3 separate regions of the Homo sapiens genome follow, and regions 2 and 3 are each linked to region 1. Evidence: promoter capture Hi-C in 16 types of primary human blood cells and fetal thymus (Javierre and others, 2016). All regions are on one chromosome and are shown on one strand. The core of a region is centred on a gene start or on the middle of the fragment in contact, and the rest is flanking DNA. Distances in the headings are between cores, read along the strand shown. Region 1 holds the start of MRPL21 (mitochondrial ribosomal protein L21). Region 2 overlaps PPP6R3 (protein phosphatase 6 regulatory subunit 3). Region 3 overlaps PPP6R3 (protein phosphatase 6 regulatory subunit 3).

The links. The method cuts DNA at HindIII sites, captures the fragments that hold promoters and counts their contacts. A CHiCAGO score of 5 or more calls a contact.
Region 2: a contact is called between a fragment that was not itself captured here and the fragment with the promoter of MRPL21 in region 1, in 1 of 17 cell types (M2 macrophages). The highest score is 5.6, in M2 macrophages.
Region 3: a contact is called between a fragment that was not itself captured here and the fragment with the promoter of MRPL21 in region 1, in 2 of 17 cell types (total B cells and naive B cells). The highest score is 5.8, in total B cells.

What each region holds. Positions count from the first base shown.
Region 1 is chr11:68,900,847-68,905,625 of GRCh38, forward strand. It overlaps MRPL21 (mitochondrial ribosomal protein L21), which reads right to left and starts at 2,986. Exons shown (of 7, transcript NM_181514.2): 1 at 2,877-2,986. The coding sequence starts at 2,964. IGHMBP2 (immunoglobulin mu DNA binding protein 2) reads left to right here and starts at 3,045. Exons shown (of 15, transcript NM_002180.3): 1 at 3,045-3,192. The coding sequence starts at 3,107. RefSeq lists enhancers at 2,859-3,586, 3,018-3,137, 3,468-3,527. The HindIII fragment of the contact is 5,018 bases long and covers 1-3,441 here.
Region 2 is chr11:68,573,878-68,578,656 of GRCh38, forward strand. PPP6R3 (protein phosphatase 6 regulatory subunit 3) reads left to right here. Exons shown (of 24, transcript NM_001164161.2): 13 at 232-347; 14 at 2,081-2,166. Among named protein-coding and RNA genes, the nearest start is that of GAL, 110 kb to the right of the region's middle. The HindIII fragment of the contact is 1,884 bases long and covers 1,764-3,647 here.
Region 3 is chr11:68,610,728-68,615,506 of GRCh38, forward strand. PPP6R3 (protein phosphatase 6 regulatory subunit 3) reads left to right here. Exons shown (of 24, transcript NM_001164161.2): 24 at 2,339-4,607. The coding sequence ends at 2,390. Among named protein-coding and RNA genes, the nearest start is that of GAL, 71 kb to the right of the region's middle. The HindIII fragment of the contact is 172 bases long and covers 1,974-2,145 here.

The sequences.
Region 1 (4,779 bases), core at 1,736-4,235:
CACTAACTCATGCCTTGACTAAGTGCCTGGTAGGTTCAGACTCTGATCTGTGCCCAAGCGTGGGAGCAGCCTCCAAGATGGCCCTGCTGGGCCCCGCCTCCTGCTATTCTTACCCCTGTTAGCCCCCTGGGAGTGGCCTGTGTGTCCAACAGCTAGTGACAGACATGCTAGCACGTGGCTTCTGGGATGAGGTGATAACCAACTGGGACTTCCATCTTGGATGCCTGTGCTCACCCTTTCTGATCTCTGGCCTTAGGGCTGCCCTGCTGTGAGCAGCCCTACCTAGAGGTCCACATGGCGGGGAACTAGGCCTATCGCCAACACCCATGGGAACGACCTTGCAGGTAGATTCTCCAGCCGCTGGCGCAGTGGAGTCTTGAGATAACTACAGCCCCTGCAGACTTGCTTGCTGCAAGCTAAGACCCTGAGCCAGAACCAGCCACTTAAGCTGCTTCTGTGTTCCTGGCTCTCAGAACTGGTGTGAGTTAATAAATGTTTTAAGCTGCTAAGTTTTGGGGTAATTTCTGATGTAACCGTAGATAACGCATACACCAGGAATACACCAGGAAACAAAGACATTCAATCTACTGAGAAGACAGGGGATCAAAATAAGTGCTTAGGTGTAAAAAGCAGAGAACAGTTTCTCAATAACCACTTTTAAAGAAACTCAGCTATAATTTACACACCATAAAAACCACCTTTTTAAAGTTCACCCATTAGCACCAGCTCCCCATTTGCATCTCCTCGGCTGCTTTCTCCTCTCCTCTCCCATTTGGGCATCCGGGGCTCAACCCTTGGCCTTGACCTCCTCTCCGCCCATGGCCATTCCTCTGGTGACTGCATCCAGTCCGATGGATTTAAACACCCCCAATGTGCTGGTGACTCCCAAGTTTACACCTCCAGCCAGGGCTTCTCTCCTGGTTTTGCATACCCACCTATCTATCTGCCTTAGCCACTCGTGTCTGACGAGCACCTCACACCTCCAGAGGCTCCTCATTTCTTCCCATGCCTGCTTCTCCCACACTCCTCCCTCTCACATGAGGGCAACTTCATCCTCCCAGTTGCTCAGGCCCCAAACCTCCATCAGTTTTGACTCTTCTCTCGCACACTACTCAGTCAACCCATTGGCAAATCCATCCCACTATTAAAAACTTAGCAGGCTTCTGTACCTAATTTGCTTCTAGCTTTGTTTTTGGGTCCCCAGGGAACAAACAGTCTCCTTCCTCTCCCACAGGATTTCCTTTAGGTAGTCCTAGAGACTGTGACTGTGTACTTCCATCACGTCTCCTTTGCTCACTCTTCAAGGCCCCAGCTGCTCACTGTTTTGGTCACCTTGTCTCTACTCGCTTCACTGTGTGTCTTTCTCTCCTAATGCGTGAGTCTGTACTTGAACATAGCATTGGAGGGGTGGTTTCATGTAGGTAGGTAGAATGGAGTAAGTCCCACTGCTTTTGTAAAAACTTTCCTGCCTACTTAAACCTAAGTTTTATTATGGAAAATGTCAAGCATACAAAAGTAAAGAGAACAGAATAGTGAACTCTCTCAATTATCCCTTTCCAGGTTCAACAGTTACCAACTCATGGCCAATTTTGGCATCTACATTGCCTCTGGCCCAACTCTGTGATTATTATTAATTTCTTAATAGACTTTATTTTTTAGCACAGTTTTAGTTTCACACCAAAATTGAGTGGAAGGTACAGAGAGTTCCCATATGTCCCCTGTCCATGTGCCCACAGCTTCCTATCAACATCCCTCACCAGAGTGGTACAATCTTTACAATTGATGAACCTACATTGACACATCATTGTTATCCAAAGTCCATAGTCTACATTAGGGGTTCACCCTTGGTAGTGTACATTCTATGGATTTGGACAAACTTATAATGACATGTATCTACCATTATATCATACAGAATAGTTTCACTGCCCTAAAAATCCTCTGAGCTCCACCTATTTATCCTTTTCTCCCCCAATCCTCTTACCCCCCATGTAACTTTTTACTGTCTCCTTAGATTTGCCTTTTCCAGAATGTCATAGTGGGAAACATACAAGATGTCCCCTTTTCAGGTTGGCTTCTTTTACTTAGTAACATGTATGTAAGTTTCCTCCATGTCTCTTCATGACTCATTTCTTTTTATTGCTGCATAATATTCTACTGTATGGATGTCCTACAGTTTATGTAACCATTCATCTCCTGAAGGACATCTGGGTTGCTTCCAAGTTTTGGGAATTATGGTACTATTCTTTTAATATCGTCCAATATAGAGTTAGATCCAGTTTTCCATTTTTGGGGGTCATGGTGAGACATGAAACCCAGGTTTAAAACATACATAAACACTCATGCACACAAATACACACTCCAACCATTTTCAAGCAGAGATTTATAGAGTTTTTAACGGACATAACCTTTTTGGAGCCTCGTATCAGCCCAGCGCCTTAAATACGGCTGTTTCTTTTGCAGAATGAGTTCAGATTAGGCGAGGATATCCATCACCATTTTTCAGACCAGCTCGCAGCCTGGGGGCAGTGGTTCAAGCACAGGCTTTGGAGCCGAAATGACTGCGCCTGAAGTACTCTTCTTCCACTTCCCCGCTGTGTGACCCTGGGCACGTTACCTAGCTCCTCTGAGCCTCACTCTTCTCCCCCATAACATAGGGCCTATACCAAAGTTCAAGGGCTATTGTCAGTATTCAGGCTACTAACTGAAGGAATCAAAATCTGAACCTGGGTTCCCCCGACTCCAAAACCCGTGCTATATTCACCACAAATGCGATCAACACACAAGGCACCAGGTCGGACCCAGGCACATACGTGGCGAGACCGCAGGGAGCAGCGCTCGCTCTGCGTCCTCCCTTCCTCCCATATCCCAGGTCTCACCTGCTCCGGGCCCCGAAGGTCTCAGGATGCTGTGGCTGCACGCGGACGCCAGCCGCCCTAAGGTGACCGTCAGGGAAGATGCTGCCATGGCCGCAGCCTCGGCCGGAAACGGAAACGACGCGAACCGCGTGCGTAACGCACGGGCCCGGCGGGGAACACCGGTCCGCTGTAACACCGGCCCGGCGCAGAAGCGGGACGTCGGCTTCTAGGGGCCCAGGCCGGCGGCGGCGATGGCCTCGGCAGCTGTGGAGAGCTTCGTGACCAAGCAACTGGACCTGCTGGAGCTTGAGAGAGACGCGGAGGTGGAGGAGCGCAGGTACGGGAGGCCGCCGGCGCCGCTCCCTCGCGGTCGGTCCCGCCGTGTCCCGGGCAGAGTCTCCGAGGGGCTCGGCCTCATAGTCTGGGGCGGGAATTTCGTCTCCGACCCTTCGAGTCAGGGGCAGGGATCGTCCGTCCCCTGCTTGGCCACCTCCCGAGTTGTCAGTCTCATCACTTCCTGGGCAGCGCGTTCCGTTTGGGGACCCTTAAGAAGCACTTTGATTTCCCGACCCGAGACCCCCCACTAAGCTTACACTCCTGGGCCCTGGCCCCGACCCCAGTTCCACCCGCAGCGAGTTAGCAGCCCTTTCCCTTATTCATTCAGTAAACATGGTTTGCGCCCATTCTCAGTCAGGCCCCGGCAGCATGAGTCAGGTGCACTGGCTGCCCCCGATCCGGCCAGCGGCGGGCTGGGCATAAGCAGAGAGTCCCTTCCCCTCCAGTGCGTCCAGGGCCGGCTGCGTGCGTGTCGCGGGGAAAGAGCCTGGAGGAGGAAGGCCCTTCCCTGGGGAGGGTCATGGTGGCTTCAAGGAGGGAGTGGTGCCTGAAGGAAAATTGGAGTTAAGCTGGTGGGTGCGGAGTAGGGTGGGGAGCCGTCCTGAGAGGTGTGGGGAGCCATGTGAGAGCCGGGCTTGTTTCCGAATGGGACTATTTACTTGTCCAAAACAATCAGAGCTAACACTTACGTACTTTCCATGCGTTAATTCTTTTACACCTCATCCCATGCCAACCCTACAGTGTAAGTTTCTTTTTTTTCTTTTTCTTTTTTTTTTTTTTAGACAGAGTCTCTCTCTGTCGCCCAGGCTGGAGTGCAGTGGCACGATCTCGGCTTACTGCAGCTTCCATCTCCCGGGTTCAAGCGATTCTCCTGCCTCAGCCTCCTGAGTGGCTGGGACTACAGGCGCGCCACCACGTCCTGCTAATTTTTTGTATTTTTAGTAGAGACAGGGTTTCACCATGTTGGCCAGGATGGTCTCGATCTCCTGACCTCGTGGTCTGCCCGCCTTGGCCTCCCAAAGTGTTGGGATTACAGGCGTGAGCCACCGTGCCCGGCCGCAGTGTAGGTTTCTGTTACTGTCATTTTCCGTCTAAGGAGATGGAGACAGAGAGGGGTTAAGTAACTTGCCCCGGGGTGACACAGTGTAGCCCGATTTGCTGTCAGGCAGTCTGCTTCCAGAGTTTGCAGTCAGCCATATGTGGGTAGGATTTGTCTGAGATGCTTTTGATCATGGCAATGGAGAGCTTTTGCAGTTATGTTGAGTTTCTTAGAATCCCAGCTGTTTCATTTATGGCTGTGTGACTTTGCAGGTTCTGTCTCTGAGCCTTACTTACTTCATCTGTAAAACTGGGATGATTCCCACCTCACAGGCTTGCTCTGAGAATGAAACGATCCCCTGTCAGTCAGGTGCTCAGCGTGGTGCCAAGGACAGAGTCAGCCCCCATGGCAGTGGCTCTTTCTGAGGATGCTGAGCAGACTGGCAGGGCGAGCCTGGGAAGGGCCTGGCTAAGGAGCTAGTCTTCTGTTCTGTGTATGAAGGATGGGCCATCAGCGGGGTTAAGCAGGTGAGGGAGGCGAATAGCTTTG
Region 2 (4,779 bases), core at 1,456-3,955, 330 kb before region 1:
CTGAGGCTGCCATATAATCTTTTACAATTTCACACCCCTCCCTGACCATGCTGCATGGTCATATTCTGGCACCTTCCATTCCTTTGTTTTTCTTTTCTTTTCTGTCCATCGTCATTTTCTTCAGTGCCTTCAGGGTTTAAAATGATTGTTTAAAAGTCCGCAGTATTTACCGAGTGTTTCATCACTTCATCCTATCAGGAATCTGAGTATTTGTCCTTTACCTCTTGTCAGGGCTGAGGGAGGAAGACGGCATGGTTACATGGGACACCTAACGAGGATAGCTAACTGTATCGTGCACAGCACTGACAAGGGCCCCAACAGTGCATTAGTGCAGCAGCTTATCAAAGGTAAGTTATTTGTGAAATTTGAATTACATTTTTGTTGGGTTGCAGGAAGGATTTAAGGGTCAAGTAGAAATGCATGTAGCATTTTTAATAGTGATTTGTGGGACTTCTTTATATTTGGCAAATTATGTATTTGAATGAGGTTCTTGAGAATGTGTTTGAACAGTGTTGTTTTTTGGTTGTATTTATGTTCATGTAGTTACAGACCATTCCATAAGCATTGGCAGGCTTGGCTGGATTCAGCATATAAGAGTCACCTATTGTCATTCTTAAAGAGCATTGCTTGGTGAATCATGCTTTTGAGTATTGTGAGTGTGAAGTACTCATATGCTAGCAGTTGAGCCACTTCAGCTATAATTTTGCCTTTTATTTTCTGAAGGCCTCTATATAGCCTCTGAATTAAGTTTCTTTAACTGGAATATTAGGGCATTTATCAGCATTTCTTTGATGTCGCTGTCACTAAAATGAGGGGTATTGGCTTCTAAAGGACTCTTTCTGTATAGCATTTCAGTTTAATCAGCCCAAGCTTATTTGGAAGAAACTATATGGATGCTTTTTTACACTGGCCCCAAGCCATGAGCCTTCTTCTAAAATGAGAGAACTGTGTACTCTGGGTTTTTGTACCAACAGGATTACCAATCCTGAGACCTATTCTGAATGTGAACAGTCTTTAACATCCATGGTACAGAATTTGTTCAGTTAAAATCATTTCCCAGTGGGTCTTCCATTTTTTCTTAAGAATGTTTGTTTGTTCAAGAGGCTATTCCCTGTTGAATGTGCACTAAAACCACAGTTGTCACCAGGGATGGAAAAAGTGGTGTGTGCCCACTTCTAATTTTGCTTCTTGAGAGAGGCATAAGAGGTATAAGCCTCTTCCTTGGGCCATTTCACCACACAGTTTATCTTTATGTCCTAACTAAGAAGAAATGGCCATGTGATATGACTGAGTTTTTAGATCAGACTTTCCTTTATGGAAGCTGCTTGCCAGGTGGTACATGTGTACACTTCTGTGAGTGTGCACACATGCATGGCTGTTTTAAACCAGAATTATCAGATGACTAGTTAGGCCTCTAAAATTACGTCATGGTTTGATTTTCTCAGAAAAGCAGTTGTTTATCCTTTTCTTTAACATTTCTCTAGAAGGTAGAATTTCACTATTACCTGTGTATCCACGTTGGCCCATGACACAAATATTTAGGAAACATGATCTTAGAGCAATTTGAAAAGCCATACTAGGTTCTGTGGAACATTCATTGGCCAGCTGCCAATGAGAGCATTTCAAGAAAGTGTGCAGGAGCTGTCATTTGCAGCATTTTCTAGACTTAACTTGACCATGGAAAAAGATCCCCCTACCCCCGACACGTTAAACACCTACCACCTTTCTCAGAAAAGCTTGTTGGAAACACACTTTCCAGGTTAAGCTTCTACCAGAGCATTTTCAGAAACTTGTTAAGTTCACAAGCTACCTTAGGGCTCTTGGCCTCATCAAGCCTATACCATTGGGTAGGGGGATTCTGGTTCCTGAAAGTCCATGGGATTTGGGCCTATGGAAGGTTTAATAATTCCATTTCTCTAAGAGCACTGGGCTGGCTGTCACCCAGTTTCTCAGCTGATAGGGCCTGCTCACCATTGATGAACCAGGTGAGTAGGCCCACTTTTATATTACCTGCTTACTTTATTTGTCTCCGTGGAGGTCATTGTGGTGATAATGCTTTTTTGCTTTTCTCACTCTGAAGATCTTCCCGACGAAGTCAGGGAACGATGGGAGACGTTCTGCACAAGCTCCTTAGGAGAAACTAACAAGAGGAACACGGTAGATCTAGTAGGTTTTACAAGGTTACATTTTTATTCTTTCAGTGCTCTTAGCCTTTGCCCATTTATTCAGAAAGATGTAAAAGATCTTCCATTTACCTCAGTAACTGTGAGCCAAAGATAAATTCTTATCTCTTTACCAGGGAGAGAGGTCAGTATTCACAATATTCTTGCCCATTTGTCTAGTCCACTCCTAATTACCTGCCTGGGATGACAGAAGGATATTGAGAAGTCACTGATTTCTGCTCCACATCCTACTTAGTGTCCATTTCCCTCCATGCCCTGCTGCCGAGCACCTCAACAGCCTCTTGCCTTCCTTTCATTCTGCTGGGTTTGTGGCCACATGCCACTGATAACCCTGGGTGCTTAGGAAAGCGAAAGATTCAGTTGGATATTTTTCTGATATTATTGAGTTGAGTATACCCTCGTTTTACATCATTCCCAATGGGGGAATATTTTGTAGATGACTTTGAAACCCCAGCTTTAAAATTTTTTTACCAGAATTGGGACTTTGAGCCAGGGAATAATGGCATTGATAATTTTTTTAAAAATTATATTGGACTTTGGAATGTATTTTTTGGTTTTTAAACACATTTAAGTTTTAAGGTAAGTATTGCTTTTTTCTGCTTTTAAAGATGGGGAAAGCATTTCCTTTTACAAGTACATGCCAGCTGATAGTCGAGGGGTGGCCTTTGCTTAGACAGAAGCAGCACGTGACTCGACATTGAAGTGTTTATGTTTGGCGTTTAATTCTATATTTCAAATTTGGCAGTGGCAGTCTTGAATTTCTAATATGCAGTAACACCTTGACTGTTAGGAATTCAATGATCTGGCAGCCTGAAGCAACAGGGAAGCAGGCTCTGAAAGCCAGAGAGCAGCCACTTGGTCCTCCTGTGTCACTCCCTGGAGGGCTGTGCCCCCTACTTTGTAGATTGCCTAAAAATATGGTCATCTTTTTCCAGACTCCTGACAGAGTCACACTTTTTAAGCGGGGAATAATGATAGAATTAGGAAGTATTAAGAGTTGGAAGAATTATGAAGTTGAGGTAACTATTAAAAGGAAGCTATGTGGGGCCATTTAATTAAAATAGACCTAAGGCCTAATAGCCCGAGTGTCTCTGTGTACCACAGCCCAGCAGAGAAAATGACATTAGTATTGACAGCCCTGGGTCATCAAGGAAGGGTTAAGTCATTTTTAATGAATATTTTACCCATTGTAGATAGATACTCGGACTATCGTTTAACTTGAGTGTTCTGGATAATCAGGGTTTTTTTTGTAGAATGGAATTGTCCTCTCCCATACTGTTAAATCATACTGCTTAATTTTGGAGGTTCCCACGTTGATTCCTTTGCAGGCAATATAGTCTCTTTTAAGGGGACTATTGTCTTGTCTTATAAAGGAATATTTAGTAATCTGATTTTGTTTGGGAAACTTCTTTTAAAATTATCCTTTGATTGGCTTAAAAGTTAGAAGTCAAAAATGTCCAATTAAGCTTGTTACCAGACTTTTAAACAATTGTTTTTATCTTAGGTAACTCAAGCATATTTCTTTTGTGAGCAGTTCTGTAATAAAGAAGGACTTCATTACAATTCAGATAATGCTCACTTACTGTATAGTATGCTGTCAGCAGATCTGCTCTGGGATTGTGTGTAAATGTTACTACATATATCCCCATAGAAGGGTGTGGTCATCCCGCAAAAATAAAACGTTCAGCCCCTGGTAGACTGTGTTAGAAAAAAATTATTTTGGGCTCCATCTGTCACTCAGATTGCGTCTCGGTTCTTCTTTGCTTGCTCTGCTTTTCTGCCATCATACTCGGACTGCATAATCTAAAGTCAAACAAAATCATAAGTTGGCTTATAAAGCAAAAGTGGTTAGATTGATAGGGCCCTTTAACATTACCTATATCCCCTGTTGAGTTAGCCCCACTCCAGAATTTTGCTGTCTGTTGAGACTTTCAGGTGGATCTAAATACTTCTTCAATTCTTTATTCCCGAGCCCTTTCTTAAATACCACTTCCGTTTAGTCTTAAGTCCTTCTGATAGGGAGTTTTGCTTTGTAGTATTGTGAGGGCTACAGCTATTCCAAGTGTTTAATATGCTTATATAGTAGGTCTAGGCACCAAGGAGATTTTAATCGTATCCTCCAGGCCATTCATTTTCCTGTCCAGAATGTGTTCAAGCTGTATCTCAGTGGGGTTGGGTACCATGTTTCAGGAAAATACGCAATTGTAAATATTATTATAAACACAACTTGGTAAATGCAGTGGGCCTTACCCTTGCAAAAGTGACATAGAAAAAGAGTGCCCATGTTTGAAATGTGGTAGTTACACTTGCCTTCTTAACATGCTTGTCACTGGAATTGGTAGTTAAATAATAGCTTGCTTATGCCCTGTTCCCTTTCCCAAATAGATAAGATTAGATACACTGCCTTGACTTCCTTGATTTTAGAATAGCTTGGCTACCTCTCTGGAAGTCATTTCAGGTATATTCATAGAAGTGGAGTCAGCCCAGTTCAGCACCACGTGCTTAAGTTAGTGCATTGTTAACCTGACATGTTATTTTTCTGTTTACAGCAAGGATACATTCATTTATACACTGAACACTTTCCTGTCCTATTGGC
Region 3 (4,779 bases), core at 810-3,309, 290 kb before region 1:
TTTGTTCAGCACTTCCCACAATCAACTTCTGTGAACAAATGTAGCTAAGATTGTATATTCCTTCCATAAGGAATAAAATGACCTTTAAAGCTATTTCAGAGAAGTTTTAACCCCCCACCCCCACCCCATCCTCCCCCAAATCTTGCCAGCATTGTATGAGAGCATAACCAGTGGGAACCAGCAGGGAGCACTCTTTGTTGGTCCAAAATCCTGTATTCACAGTGTAGCAAGCTGTTTGTGTTCCTCCTGTGGAAATTGTAGCCAAAATAAAGCCTTTGTTTTTGTGATTAGAAATATTTTTTTTGCATATAAAACAAACAAATTAAGAACTATTTGAGCATGTTGGCTCTAGTGAAGGCTTTTGGGGGAAGAGGCAGGGTGGCCCTCTAGCACTGGGAAGCTGCCTCAACTCTGCTTCTACGGATTGGGCAAGTCACTCTCTTTCTTGGGGTTTCAATGTATTTTTTAATGGTCCTTTATAGGTCTCATTCCCAATCAATTATTTCAGCTCTCTGATTTCTACCTATAAATTTCCTTTATATTGAGGGCTGCCTAGGCAGGATCGTCCAGGTCTATCCCAGTTTGGGGCAGTTGCTTCAGGGGAATATTCTTGGTTTCTCTGTCATAAGGATGCACAAGGCTCTGGAGTCATTTCCTTGGCTTTCTGAGCACAGAAGAATTGTTTGCATAAGGGGAAGCCACTTGCTCTCCTCTGTGGCTGGGAATGCCTGCTCTGAAGAGCCCTGCCCTAACCTGCCGGGCCAAGGGATGGAGGAAAAGATGGGGTCAGCCAGTGGAAGAAGAGGGGCATCACTTGGGTCCATGCCTTTATCCATCTGTCCTTCTTTCCTCTGACACACGTTTGTGTGTGGTGGCCACTGGTCTAGGCCGGGTCATAAAGCTGCAGCACACGGACACCCAGTGGTCTCGGGGCATACTAGAGGCACATTCATCAAGAAGCCACGAAGAAGGGACAGGGGTCCATGTGAGCTGGGGTGCGGGGGAGAGGATCTCTGAGGTGACGTTGGAGTGGGCATTAGGGCAGACCTAGAGTGCGTCCTAGATTGCACGTGTTCTAAAGTGACGTATGACAGCATGGGATATTGAAGCTCACCCGTCTTTCCTGTGTGGTTCCCGTCCCAGCCAGATACCACAGTTCCTTGGATTGGCAGGCGCGCTGTTTCCTGTCACACTTAAAGATCTGCATTGCCACATGATCTCACTTTTCACAGCTGTTTTATCAAGCATGTCCTTTGTGCTTCTGATGTGCTGAGCATGCTGCACACATTATGTACTTATTTCATATGTATACTAGTGAAGCCCTGTGGGGCGTGGGGAGGGTTCTTTTCCCATTTTACAGAGGAGAAAACAGAACTGAGAGGGGCTAAGAAATCTACTTATAAGATCACTCAGCTTGTTTAAGTGAAGGCAAGTTAGTTATATACCAGTTATGTCTAGTTCCAGAAGTCTCGATTCCTATGTCTCTCATACACGGAGCCACCATCAGATGTAAGTAAGTGAGCAGAGTGGATTGTGTGTGCAGAGCTGACTTTTTGGCTCACTGTATAACCAGCAGGTATAAGGCATGAGTAGCATTCTAGCTGTAAATTGTGAATGCTAGTGGAAAAGTGCTTGTGGGCATCCCAGTTACGGCCCTAAGCACCCTTTCCCAAGTCTGCTTGATACAATTTTGGTCAAGCCTTCCCGAATAGGTTATATATTCAGGTTGTAATTTTGGCAGGAAGGCAAAACCTGGACACTTTGTTATATACTGTCCCACCTGTTATTCCCTCCCAGTTTTGAGCCTAACATTTGCTTTGTGGGACATGTTCTTCAAGTGGACACCTTTTTTTTTTTTTCCAGTAGTTTATTTGCAAACCTCCTTTCCTTTCCTTTTTTCCCCCCTTTCCTAGTAGCAGAATCCTGTTTCCAAGTGAAATAGTATGTGGATTCCAATCTGTGGGTCACATAAAAGCTTTCTTGAAGGAGCGGTGAACACATAGCTCCTGAAGGCTCTGGAAGCCACAGTTTATACCCCACTGACCTAGTCACTCCCTGTGCTTCTTGGAGGCCGCGGTGGGGCGGTTCTCCCAGAGCATTTGCTCTGCTGCTGCCCTTGCTGAATGCCTGCTCACCCGGTGATGAAGCTTAGATGCACTCACTCAGATTTTTCTAGAGCTTTTGCTCCATTCATTTACATATCATTTTATTAAAAACTTACTAAGTTCAAAACAATGTTAAAATAAGTTGTCCCTGCCCTTGGGGAGCTCAGCTAAGTAGGTTTTGTTTTTCATATTTCTGCTGCAAGTGCCTCCGATGCCTGTCTGTTGCTCCTTAGGACTGGCCAACCAAGCGCACCAGGTGACACTTCAGTGAATGGCCCTGTATGACGGGTGACGTCTGCTGCTGCTGACTGAGGACTGCAGACCGCCACCACTCAGGGGCTCTGGAGGGGTCAGCTGGAGCCCACCAAGCTGTCACTGCTGCACTCACTCTGCAAGGGATCAGGACCAGCAACCTTTATATTCTAGATTCTAAGACATTGTACAGAGAAATTCAGAAGTGTAAAAATATTGCACATTGACAAATACCAAGAATTTTTGCGTATGTTTATATTGTATTGTTCTAAATAATGGGTAGCCTGTGAAATAAGATCTTGCCACCCATGTAATAATAGTAGTAATACTATAGTTAAAATGGCTGTAAGAATAGTTTTATAAAAGTGAATACACAGATCTATTGTATTTGAAACATAACTTTGACAATTATTAGTGTGACCAAAGTATTAGGCGGTTTTCATACATTTTTCACCTTGTACAAAATTATGAATTCATTTTTCCTCCAGGCCGACAAGGAGTTGTAGAATGAAAATGCCCTCTAAGTGTTATTTTGGTTGTTCTAACTTACAAAAGTGATTTTGAATAAGAAATATTTGGTGTTCTTTTTATAACCAGTTTTTGATTGGTAATTGTTTTCTGTATTGTTTAAAACGGATCAAAAATGTAAGTCTATTGGTAGAGATTAAGTAAAGTATTTATTGCTACATCATAGTTGATAAATTGATGTTATCGTAAAGCCATATGTTCTGTTCAAGTCTTGTTTGCTTGAAATGATTATTCCTACAAGTGAAACACTAGACTATTTGGAGTGTATATGGCTTGTGTTTTGGGATTTTTTTTTTTTTTTTTTGGCTTTTGTTTTTGTTTGTTTTTTTGTTTCATTTGGTAGTTCATCTGCCTTTTAACCCATTCACCAAAATTTACCTTGTTAACAAGCATCACCAATGAACATTTCAGAGCAATCTGCATATTTAACAGACCTAAAATAAATCCTATTAGGCAAGTCAGTTGAAAATGCTCGTGCTGCTAATGGAATTAGAGTGCGTTCATTTTACAGGCTAGTATTTTAAAAGTAGAAATCAAAATCTGGCACCGAAGCATGCTAATTGTTTACTGTACCTTGTGAGGTTTTCACTCATAAATTTAAACCAGTGTATTTTTTTAGAACTGGTTTGTGTATATATATAGTGATTATGGATACTAATTCAATGTAATTTATAATTTTCTATGTCAATACAAAAATACATCACAGCCTTCTCAAACAGCTCAAGCAATATATTGTATATTGCCATATCGTCTGGTGAAAGGGTTAAATTACTTCACCTCTTGCACTTTTAGATGCAAATCAGTTTTTCATTTCTGTAATAGAAAATTATTCACGTATTTTTACATCATTTGTTTTTCCTGACCAGTATTTAAAACCAAAAGGATATTCTGAAAAATGGCCAACAATTTTTTTAGAAGTAGCATCCCAAGCAGCGTGCCTAAACATTACATTGCATATGGAAATAAAAGAATCAAACGTCTAATGCCTTATTATTTCTGATTTCCTTTTTCATTTTAAGTGGTGTGGAGATTCCAGCACTCCCAGGACAGTGGAGTCAGCAGTAAGCCCTGGGACAGGTGGCAAGGGTGGGTCCCTTGACCTTTGCACGCCTCCTCAGGAACCCCCTTTCCCGGGTGAGCCCCTCTCTGAAGAGACTGTCCTTGGGCCTCCTCTGGAAGCAGCACCCCCAGAGGACAGGGCTCCTCCTGCTTGCCTCAGGGCTGCCTGACTTGAATGGCGTTGGACCTCGGGGATTACTGGTAGATAATATGCTCTGGTCTCGCCTGGTGGTGAGTTTTGCCAGCCATGGCCAGGGTTTGGCTCCACTGGTGGCACACGTGGCCTCCGTGGTATGGACCTGGTGGCTTCTCCATCCCACTGTGGCCTCTGTGGTATGGACCTGGTGGCTTCTCCATCCTACCCAAGGTAACAGTGTCTTGCTTCATCCCACTGACTGCTGGGAGAGAGCCTCTGGGACTTTTCTTTGGGGCATCATTTTGTTTTGTCTTTCGTAGCAGGGAAAGGATATGACAATGGGGAGGACAGTTCTTTTGGAGGTTGGAGGGGCCAAGCCAAGGACAGGAGCAAGTGTGCCCTCATTTTGTTTCTACTTTTAATTTCTGTGTGTTGGCCATACTGAATTATGAGACTAACAGATGTCTACAATACAATACCTGTATTCAAAATAACAAAAATAAAGCCTGATTCTTTGTTTCTAGAAATCTCTTGTACCTTGCTTGGATTTTTAATGGGTTGATGTGTCCTGCCATTAGGTCCCGTGTTACACTAGGTCCTGTGTGAGAAAGACTGCACTGCACTGTGTGAGAGAGTGGCCTCTGGGATCAGGGGCTCATCCTCCCCACTGCCATAGCCCAGGTGCCCAGAAGAGGTGGT